Linked DNA regions of Homo sapiens: region 1 is linked to region 2. Evidence: promoter capture Hi-C in 16 types of primary human blood cells and fetal thymus (Javierre and others, 2016). All regions are on one chromosome and are shown on one strand. The core of a region is centred on a gene start or on the middle of the fragment in contact, and the rest is flanking DNA. Distances in the headings are between cores, read along the strand shown.

Region 1 (5,780 bases), core at 3,205-5,704, 250 kb before region 2:
ATTTAAACATCTGCACGTGTTTGTCTGTCTTCCACCATTAAGATATAAACTCCCTGAGACTAGGAACTTTGTTCTTTGTACTGCTAGATTGGCAGGGCACAGAACAAGCCCGACATGTAATAGGCACTCAGCAATTATGTTTGAATGAATCTATCTTCCATTTACACTTTTAAGCCTTTTTTTTTTTTTTGGCAATATATTAACCCAAATTGCAAAAGCTAAGCTTGACTCTATGCTATTGGAGACTTCACTACCAAAAAGAAGAAACAGATGTCTCTGCCAATACTCACCTTCTTTTAAAAAAGTCCTTTTTAATTGACAAGTAATTGTGTATATCAATACTCCATTTTATTAAACACTCTTTCATGCCAGCTTCTAATGAAGGACAACTACAAGGCCACAGATATGTTCTTCCTATTCCAGGTTCCTCAAGGAGAGGGCTATGGGGGTGAATAAACATTGACGGGAGGGAAAACAAAGCCATTTCTTGAGGCTGAAGAGAATATACATCCCTTTCTTCTTTCCTGAAGCTGCAGGCATCATGGGGATTATGAATGCTCCTTTCCTCGCTTTCCCCCAGGACTTCTTTGGGAGATAAAGTTGAAGAGAAGGGATTTGGGGGTTGGTGTTCCCCAATGTTGCAAGGCGTATTTTAATTTGAAGAACACCAGGCTCAATGGAAAGAAAACAGGGCATGCACTTAAGCCTAAATCTAGATTGAAGTTAATGACGCGCCTTTAGATTCACTGTGGATCCTGTTTACTGGGCTGGATAAAGAATCAAAGAGTGGATCTGGATTATCGTACTAAGCACTTTTGATTTTTTTTTCTTTTTTCTTTTTTTTTTTTTTTGAGACGGAGTCTCTCTTTGTCACCCAGGCTGGAGTGCAGTGGCGCCATCTTAGCTCACTCCAACCTCCACTTCCCGGGTTCAAGTGATTCTCCTGCCTCAGCCTCCTGAGTAGCTGGGATTACAGGCATGTGCCACGGCTAATTTTTGTGTTTTTAGTAGAGATGGGGTTTCACCATGTTGGTCAGGTTAGTCTTGAACTCCTGACCTCGTGATCTGCCTGCCTCAGCCTCCCAAAGTGCCGGGATTACAGGTGTGAGCCACCGCGCTTGGCTATTCTTAATTCTATAACGAATAGCAGTTCTACGAGGTGGGTATTGTCATCTCCGGTTTTTAGATAGGAAAATCAGGAGGCATTAGGGCTACAGAAGAAATCAAATGGCACCCTCAAGTCTACCTAAGGAAAAAGTACATCTACAGGGTGGGGGCAGGGTGCAAGGAACTAACAAAGAATGATGAAGCACCCCGGAAGGGACAATGGCCTGAGAGGGGAAGGGGAGGGAGCTGGAGTCTCAGAGAAGGGCCAGCTGGACAGGAGCTGTCTGGAACCAAGCATCGTAGTGAGGCAGGGAAAGTTGGGCTAATACATTCCAGACCTGTCCCCTTTCTGATCTCGTGCTCTCCACTGGATGGAAGCCAGAGTGATGCAGTTAGAGCCCAGAAGAAGGCAGACAAGGTGGGGAGTAGATGTGGAGGTTGAAATGAGAATAACCAGCACAGAGGTTTGGTTGGATACGTGTAAATAAAAGAGCTGGGATTTTAAGCAGGTTTGTCCTCAACTAAACTCGAAAGCTCTCACTCCTTCTACCATGACAAAGTTTTTACGACTCTGCATTGTGGCCTATTGCTGGTCATGATATCAATTTGGTGGCTTGCAGTCAGCATTTTACAAACCGATGTAGGACAAACTATCAGAGTGCACTGCAACATGCTTCAGTTATACAGATCACAGCAACAAATGTATTTCTTACTATGGAATACCTGCATGACGCCACATTGCGCTCATATGTCTTAATTCAGCCTCACAGGAACATGCCCTAAATTCCAAAATACAGAAAAGGCCAAGGCCATAAGAAGACTGTCAGAAACAGAAACGATTTTAAGAGGTTGGATGCAGTTGAAAGGATTCAGCCCATGTTTCTAATGGCTGCGTATCAGTGAACAGGTGGTTCAACAACAGGAAAAGTAGCCACAGATTAAGGCCAGGAAATGGAGGAAAAATGAGCAACAGTAACCAGCTAGCATTTTTGCAGGTGAACACCTTTGTTGTCTCAGCAATTCCAGTAGTTTAAAATCAGAGAATTTTCTTTTTATGTATTTATTGAGATGGGGTCTTGCTCTGTTGCCTAGGCTGGAGGGCAGTGGCACGATCACGACTCACTGCAACCTTGACCTCCCGGACCCAAGCAGTCCCCCTACCTCAGCCTCCCAAGTAGCTGGGACTACAGGCACACATCACCATGACTTTTTGTATTTTTTGTAGAGATGGGGTTTCACCATGTTGTCCAGGCTGGTCTTGAATTCCTGGGCTCAAGCAATCCTCCTGCCTCAGACTCCCAAAGTGTTGGGATCACAGCTACTCTTCCTGGCCAAAGAATTTTCTTTTCTTCTTCTTTTTTTTTTAATTGATTTTTACTTAACCTAATTTATAGGCTTACAGGGAATTTTCTTTACACGACTGTAGAATATGGGCTTTGTAACTGGGCAGACTTTACTTTTTTGTTACAAGCCACTTAATAGATTTATGAGTTATCTAGCCTCTTTGATTTGGCAAATAGAAACCTCTTAGAGTCATGGAAGACACATGCAAATCACGCTAATATATGTAAAGCATCTGACTTGACTTACAAGTGCAATAAATAATGGTGATTCCTTTTTGTACTGTTATAATTCCACACTGGCTTTTAAGTAAAAATGGTTATTATATGTGAATACACCTTCCTTACTGCAAAGGCTAAACAAGTATTATTAAAAGGAATAGTTTTATAGGTCACTGTTTTTAAATCATAGGCAGAGCTAACACTAAAGTGAATCTCAAAGTAAATCCCATCAAAGTCCTCTCAGTGCAGAGACAGCAGCTAGGGAGAAGACAGAATAAGGTAAGTGTTAGAGGAAAAGAACGCTGTGAGTTTTGTGCAGGAGTCCTGAACCCAAACTATTTTTTTTTTTTTAAAGATGAGGATTCACTCTGTTGCCCAGGCTAGAGCACAGTGGTGCAATCACAGCTCACTGTAGCCTTAAACTCCTGGGCTCAAGCGATCCTCCCACCTCAGCCTACTGAGTAGCTGAGACCATAGGCATAAGCCACTGTGCCTGGCTTGAAACTGGCATTACAAATGTAATTAAACCTGCTCTGTAGCCTTACCCACTACTTTATCCTACCCATCTCCCACCAACAGATGCAAAAACACATTTTATACTTTTGAGTGCTAGACTTATTATTTCAAACAGACACTTTTTTTTTGCAAATCAAACTTTAAATGTGACTTTATTATCTCTCTTCCATTTTTATTATTGAATAAGTGAATGAAATATTAAACTAAATTATAACTTTTCCTGAACTGTTTTTAAATCATAGGCAGAGCCAGGGTTTTCTTTTTTTCTCTCTCTCTCTGTAATTGCGACATGAATGTACTTTGATCCCAGTAATCATTTTCAATCAATGGGAAAACAAATGAAAAAAAATCCCATGCTGGAATGATGCAAATAGGTGAGCTTGCTTATTAGAATCTTTTTTTCTTTTCCTCTTACAGGCCACTCACATAATACATATCCAAGTCAGAGAATGCTGATATAAACCTTGCCCACCTCTCTCAGCCCGTCTTTCTTACTCAGACAATTTCTGAGCAGCTCTTTGATGAACACACAATCTTCAGTTTCCAGGACAAACTGAGCCACAGCCTTCCCTCCTGGCAGATGGCTCCTCACCATCTGACTTTTGACACTGTCCAGGACAACTCCCCTGATGTCTTTAGGCTTTCCTGGCATACCAAAGATGATAAACAGACCCAGGCAATCCTCTCCTATTAAGTTACAGAATTCTTCCAGCTTATCAAATCTACTTTTCTTCCAGGAAGACTCCTCTACCCTTGATTCTGGATTGGAAAGGTCACAAGGCTTAGATTCCACAGGAGGAGGTGAAGACATCTGCAGAGTCTGTACTGCGAGCTGAAGCTTTATTTGCTTGTTGGATCCCCAAAAGGTCCAAATCCAGTCTGCACCAAACAGGAAGGCTTGGTGCTTGGTCATCTTGGTGGTGGTCAGCCACTCATCAACTCCCTTTTCTTGGCAGAAAGTGATGAAATGGATTAAGAAGATCTCATTCAGAGTATTTGCAGCTGGGCAGAGTTTACTTGGAGGATATTCAAATCCAAGGTACTCCTTCAGTTTCTGAGCTGCATGGACTATAGCTTCACTGACCACCTCACAGACGACGGGCACCTCTTTGCTGTCCTTCAGAGCCAACTGTTGCGATGCTTTCTGCCCCATTTTCTCTGCATCCAAATATCAAACATGTGAATCTGGTTCAGACGTACTTCTTTTTCAAAGTAAAAGTTCTGCAGGGAGGCCACATCTGTTAATGGTTCATGTTTTTCTAACTCTACAGCTTCCTCGGGTGTAGTTAAGCATATATACATACAGCTAAATAAACATGTTAGTTCTCTCTGTTTGTCAGTTGGGTGTGTTGTGTTCATACAGTTCCTGCTGGTTTATTAAGTTAAAGATACTAAATTTCACACAAAACATCTGTTCTATCTAGGTTATATTCACTCTACTTTTAATCTTTGGTAATCTCTTCCAACATGTTTCCTCTTTCCAAGTTTTAGTTGAAGTAAAAATAGCACGTTAGTTCTTTTTGTTTTTGTTTTTTGAGACAGGGTCTCACTCTGCTACCCAGGCTGGAGTGCAGTGGCGCAATCATGGCTCACTGCAGCTTCAACCTCCCTGGGCTCAGGTGATCTCACCTCAGCCTCTTGAGTAGCTGGGGCTACAAGTGTATACCACCACACCTGGCTAATTTTTGTGTATTTTTTGTAGAGGTGGGGTTTCACCATGTTGTCCTGGCTGGTCTCAATCTCCTAGGCTCAAGCAATCCTCCCGCCTCGGCCTCCCAAAGTGCTGGGATTATAGGCATGAGCCACTGCACCCAGCCCTATGTTAGTTTTTTAAATATCCATACACCTCTTTCTACAACTAACTTCTTCCAATCTCTAGGTGAGTCATTTCCATTTGCTTTTCCTATTTTCTTTTTTTGTTTGTTTTTGTTTCTTTTACCTTCTGCCATGATTCTTCATTCCCCAGCTCAGTTGCTTCTTTTCCTACAAAAGCTTCTCAAACAAAGGCCTCAAATTCCTATCTGTTGATACACATTATAAACTCCATTCGAACAAATTTATGGCAGTTTATAAAGAGATTGTGTTATTTTCTATGTCAGAAACAAAGCCTGTTACTATGAACAACGGAAAATGAAATAAGGGCAATAAAAATGAGGCAATTATCAATTGACTTTATTTCCTTTCATATGGTAACACCAGCAGTGTATGATATTTGTAAATAAAATACGTCATAAAAAAATTTAACCTTATTACCTATTATCAGTTAGGTTATACCATCCTGAATAAAAAATATTTGGGCCGGGCATGGTGGCTCACGCCTGTAATCCCAGCACTTTGGGAGACCGAGGGGGGCGATTCACGAGGTCAGGAGATTGAGACCTTCCTGGCTAACACGGTGAAACCCCGTCTCTACTAAAAATACAAAAACAAAATTAGCCAGGCGTGGTGGCAGGTACCTGTAGTCCCAGCTGCTTGGGAAGCTGAGGTGGGAGAATGGCGTGAACCCAGGAGGCGGAGCTTGCAGTGAGCTGAGATTGTGCCACTGCACTCCAGCCTGGGCAACAGAGCAAGACTCCGTCTCAAAAAAAAAAAAAA
Region 2 (5,630 bases), core at 2,453-4,952:
AGGCAGCCCAGCCTAGTTGGTGGGGGGTGGGGGCAGGGAGGGAGGAGGGCCAGAGAAATAGGGTGCCTGCCTCCTTCCCAAGGTAGGGATTGCAAGGCCTGAATCAAGAAAGGAAGGTCAACAGCCTTGAGGAGAATATGTTTTGGTGACCAGGTGTGACCCTCAGAACAGGACAGGCAGCCAGAGGCTCCACAGACCTCTACCCTGAGAGGAGCAGAGCTGAGCTGGGAAGAACTCTGTGTTCCTGAATGTGGCCCACAGAATCCATTCCGCACAGCATTTGATAAGATTGACTTAAGAGGAGACAATTATGATTGGAGTAGGGGTCATGAGCTAAAACTGGCCGATGAATGGATGGAGGTGAGAACGAATGAAGGGAGGCAGCAAAGGCAGGGCTGCCTGCTCGAGTCTTTCAACAGTCCTACAGGAAGGGCTTAGCTAGAGATTCGGACCCACGTAGCCAGGCATTAAAGCCCAAGAAATGGGCTCAGCCCCTCCTTTTGGTTCTCTAATGGGGGAAAACTGGCCTTGTAAGAGCCTGTCATTGTATTATAGGACAATGGAAATACCCAGCCAGAGAAATAGAAGTCCAATGTACCAAGAGGGGAGTGGGACATAATTGGTGTTATCAGTGCATCACTCAATGGATTTGTATTGGATATTTTAACTTTTCCCCCCTTCAAGGGACCAGATGAGAACTAAATCTGTATAAATCCTTGGGTGTGACCTTTAACTCAATCCAAGGCACAATAGGTTTTCAACCACATTTTCTCTGTGCAGAAAAAGTTTCCAAGAAGGAAATGGAGGAGAAGCCTCATTACTCCCTTCTGTCAGTCTCTTACTGTGATCCCTCCATAAGCAGTTTCCTGTGTTTCTCACAATTAATTTTAATAATTTCATTTTTGCAGAGAATTCTGTATAATTGAGAAAGTATGTCAACTTGTTCCTATAATTTTTTCAGAAGTATGCAGCAGGTGACAGATTTTGTCCCTTACAAAGATAAACATAACGAAAGTATGAAATGTTTGTTCATCCAAATGTTGTTTATGCAAAGATCAGAGCAAGTATTTCGTTTGGGTGTGGCAGTTCAAAGAAACACCTTGATGACCTTTGCGGCTTATCTAATAACGCTAGCATTATGTTTTTTTTGTGATCACGGAAGCGGGTGCAGGGGTGGCATGATTTATAATTCAACAGTCTTGGTTTAGCCAGTCTAGAACACTTAGGAGCATATAATCAGGTCAAGTTTTCAGACCCACACAAAGCCTGCAGGGTGGCTGAGACCTAGGCTGGCCTTAGTCCTCAACTTTTTGAGCCAACATACACTTGAGTCTGCAGTGGATGGACAGTTTCCCACCGCTTGCCTTCTCTTTCTCCTCTTTCAAAGTCCTTCTGTCTTTTACCCCTTTGATTCTGGTTTGACAATTCCATTCTTCTCTCATTATTTGGTCAACTGGTAGACTATGTGTGGGAGCGGGAGATTGAGGGGTTTAGAGAATCATGTGGTTGGAGAATGAGGGTAGAGGATGTTAGAGTGACCTCCGAGTGAATTATCAATAAGACCATAAGACCTTTCTCAATGCAAATGTTAACCTCCAGCTAGTACATATTAAGCTGATTATTCTGCTTAAAGGTCATTTGTTTACTGCCTCACCTTGAACCACATTATAAAAGGTTCCCTTGTTTACTTTTGTTTAGAACTGGAGAGAGGATTTTAAAAATTTAATCCCAAGGGTCCCAGAGCCTGGCTTAAGGAGCTTAAGGGTCTGCTGGCCCCAGTTTAAGTTTTGTTCTTCTGACACAATGCCGAGAAAAGCATTGATTCCAGTTCAATTCTCAGGTTTGTTTATTTGGTTTTGCTTTTATGCAGTTGGGGGAAAATAGAAAGAAAAATGGCATTAAGTTCAAGTGTGGCCACCCTTTCTATTTCAACAAGTAGTATTCTACTAAACTCAGTAAAGACTTGCCGCTTGGGAGAACTAAGGCGGAGGGCACTCTTCTTTATCGTGCAATTCTGACCTGGCAGACATAGCATTCTGGGTTTACATCTATTATGTCACTAATCCTGACAACACCTCTGTAGGGTACTTGATAATATTCTCAATTTAACAATGAGTAACAACTTCTGGGAGGAGGGTGACTTGTTCAAGGTCCTACAGCTAGTAAGTGGTAAATCAAGAACTTAAGTCCAAAATTTTCTAACCGGAAAGCTAATACTTTCTCTACTTGTTTCTAAAAACATGTATTTAATTGATAACTATTTTTGAGCATCTGCTATGTGTCAGGTACTGTGCTGGAGTGGAGAATGCAAGCATGCGTAAAGATACAGTTCCTGTCCCTGCGGAGCTTGCAGGCCACTTGGCTCTGGTCAGGTGCAATGTGTTAAGTGCTAGGGAAGGTTGCGGTGGCAGCACATAGGAGAGGCACTCGGCTGAGTTTCTGGGGCTCAGACGCGTAAGTCCAGAGAAAGTACATCTACAGAAGCCCGAAAACAGTTTCTCAAATTTTACTGTAAATGTGAATCATTCTAGGATCTTGTTAAAATGTAGGTTCTGATTCAGGAGGTCTGGAGTGAGGCCTAAAGTTCTGCTTTTTTTTTTTTTTTTTGAGACAGAGTCTTGCTCTGTCTCCCAGCCTGCGATCACCACTCACTGCAGCCTTGACCTCCTCCCACCTTAGCCTCCCGAGTAGTTGGGACTACAGATGCGGATCACCATGCCCAGCTAAGTTTTTGTATTTTTTATAGAGACAAGGTTTTGCTGTGTTGCCAGGCTGGTCTCAGGCTCCTGGGCTGAAGCGATCCTCCCACCTTGGCCTCCCAAGGTGCTGGGATTACAGGTGTGAGCCACCGCACCTGGCCGATTCTGCCTTTCTAACAAGCTCCCGAAGAGGCTGTTGCAGCTGGTCCATGGATCACCCTGTTAGTAGTAAGGCTCTGAAGAGCAAGAAAGGGTTAGCCAGGTAGAGAGGTGTGTCGGTGGTGACAGCTTCCCCAGTAAAGATGCAGAATGGGCAAAGCCTTATGGAGAAAAGGATCAAGATCATCTTCAGGGAACTGTGGTTTCCCCAGTAATCCTGGACTGTGGGGCATGAGGTGGTGAGGTAGCTCAAGAAGGGGCTGGAGGTGAAAGTGAAGTAAATGGAAACCCATCATACAGGGCCCCATAAGCCTTGTTAAGGGGCTGTGTCTATTACTGAGGGCAGTGAGATGCCATTCACTGTTTTAAGCTGATGAGTTCCTTTATCGGATCTGTGCTTTCCAAAAAGCACACTGACTACAGTGTGGAAACTGCATTAGAACAGTGTTTTCAATGCTGTCTCCATGTCAGAATCACGTGGGGAACTTTATAAAATGCCAATGCTCAGCCACCGTCCCTAACCCCGACCCCAGACAATTCAAGAGGATCTCTAAGGCAGAAGTTCTTAAAGCATGGTCCCTGGACCAGCATCAGCAAAAGCATCAGGGAACTTGTTAGAAATGCAAATTCCCAGGCCCCCTCCCAGACTTACTGAATCAGGAACTCCGGGAGTGGGCCCAGCAGCCTGAGGTTTAAGAAGCTCCCCAAGGGCCTCAGGTACAGCTAATGTTTGAGAACCACTGGATTAGAGGGAGAAAAGTGGGGAGAGAGAGAGGATACTTGACCAATCAGAAGCAGAGAGATGATGATGTCACAGAACCCACATTGGCTCTTATTAAACTCGAGGATCAACATCATCTTGATAGAGTCCCATAGTGTCTCAAAGTGGGGAGGTTAGGATGCTGGTTAGTCATGGAGTATTTTCAGAGTGGAAGTTGATCAGTGACGTTTTGTCAGGGATTGATCCAATTTATAAACTAGGTAAGTTTCTGTGTTATTGACTGAATTGTTTTTCCCTCCAAATTCATATGTTGAAGACCTACGCCCCAATGTGATGGTATTTGGAGATCAGGCCTTTGGGAGATAATTAAGGTTAGATGAGGTTATGAGGGTGGGGCCCTCATAAATGAGATTAGTGCCCTTATAAGAAGAGGCACCAGAGAGCTTTCTCTCTCCCTCCTCCATCTCTCTCTCCCCTTCCCCTCCTGCTCCCTCTGTTCCCAATCCCTGCTTCCCAACTCCCACCATGTGAGGACACATTAAGAAGGCCACCATTGGCCAGGTGCAGTGGCTCATGCCTGTAATCCTAGCACTTTGGGAGGCTGAGGTGGGTGGATTACGAGGTCAGGAGTTCAAGACCAGCCTGGCCAACATGGTGAAACCCCATCTCTACTAAAAATACAAAAAGTAGCTGGGCGTGTTGGTGGGTGCCTATAATCCCAGCTACTTGGGAGGCTGAGGCAGGAGAATCATTTGAACCTGTGAGGCAGAGGTTACAGTGAGCTGAGATCACGCCATTGCACTCCAGACTGGGCGACAGAGCAAGACTCTGTCTTAAAAAAAAAAGAGAGAGAGAGAAAGAAAAAGAAAAAGAAAAAAAGAAGGCCACCTTCTACAAGCCAGAAAGAGAGCCCTCACCAGAAACAGACCATGCTAGCACTTGATCTTGGACTTCTATTCTCCAGAACTGTGAGAAAATAAATTTCTGTTGTTTAAGCCACCCACTCTGTGGTATTTCGTGATGGCAGCCTGAGCTAAGACACTTGTGGAAAGGTAAGTGGTCTTGCTGGGACACATGGGTCCCTGTGGAGTTAACTGTTAAAATGGTTTGTCTGTGGTCTTATCTTGGGACATGTGGGTCTGAGTGAATTGCAGCTGTAACAAATTGAGCTTATATAGTTTACGTTGCAAGTTTTCAGTTTTGAAATTGTGGCTTTTGTTTCATATTTTAGAATCCTAAACTAAGGCTGTGATATGAATTATTGAAATTCAAAACTCTTAATAGGGTTGTCAGATAAAATATAGAACACCCAGTTAAATTTGAATTTCAAGTAAACAGTAAAAACATGTTTAATATAATTATATGCCAAATAGTGCATGGAATATACTTATTCTAAAAAAAATTCATGGTTTATCTGAAATTCAAATTAAACTGGGTTCCTGTATTTTTAAAAATTTTATTGAGGTACACTATACATGTATAATTTACCATATTTACCATTTTTAAATGCAGTTCAGTAGCAATAAATACATTGATATTCTTTGTTTTGCCTTTATTCCCCTCCCCTTCGCTGCCTCTGGTAACCACCAATCTACTGTCTATCTTCACGAGATTCACTTTTTTTAGCTCCCACATATGAGTGAGAACATACGATATTTGTCTCTCTGTGCTTGGCTTATTTCACACAGCATAATGGCCTCCATTTCTATCCATGTTGCTGCAAAGGGCAGGATTTCATTCTTTTTTTATAGCTTAATAATACTCCACTGTGTATATATATATCACATTTTCTTTATCCATTCATCCATTGATGGGCACTTAGATTCATTTCATATTTTGGCTATTGTGAATAGTGCTGCAATAAACACGGGCGTGCAGCTATCTCTTTGATATATTGATTTCCTTTCTTTCACATATATACCCAGGAGTGGCATTGCTGGATCATATGGTAGTTCTATCTTTAGTGTGTTGAGCAGCCTCCATACTATTCTTCATAGTGGTGGTACTAACTTATACTCCCAGCAATAGTGGATGAGGGTTCCCCTTTCTCC

The links. Contacts are between HindIII fragments. The CHiCAGO score rates a contact against its expected background, and 5 or more counts as called.
Region 1: a contact is called between the fragment with the promoter of REP15 here and the fragment with the promoter of BMAL2-AS1 in region 2, in 10 of 17 cell types (endothelial precursors, non-activated CD4 T cells, total B cells and 7 more). The highest score is 7.1, in endothelial precursors.

Annotation. Positions count from the first base shown.
Region 1 is chr12:27,695,121-27,700,900 of GRCh38, reverse strand. REP15 (RAB15 effector protein) reads right to left here and starts at 4,454. Exons shown (of 1, transcript NM_001029874.3): 1 at 3,305-4,454. The coding sequence starts at 4,338. The coding sequence ends at 3,628. PPFIBP1 (PPFIB scaffold protein 1) reads right to left here. Exons shown (of 30, transcript NM_003622.4): 30 at 5,337-5,780. The region is part of intron 3 of MRPS35-DT (MRPS35 divergent transcript); the gene reads left to right. The HindIII fragment of the contact is 1,154 bases long and covers 4,026-5,179 here.
Region 2 is chr12:27,444,706-27,450,335 of GRCh38, reverse strand. It overlaps BMAL2-AS1 (BMAL2 antisense RNA 1), which reads left to right and starts at 3,702. Exons shown (of 4, transcript NR_109975.1): 1 at 3,702-3,839. It overlaps SMCO2 (single-pass membrane protein with coiled-coil domains 2), which reads right to left and starts at 3,600. Exons shown (of 9, transcript NM_001395208.2): 1 at 3,511-3,600. The HindIII fragment of the contact is 11,011 bases long and covers 1-5,630 here.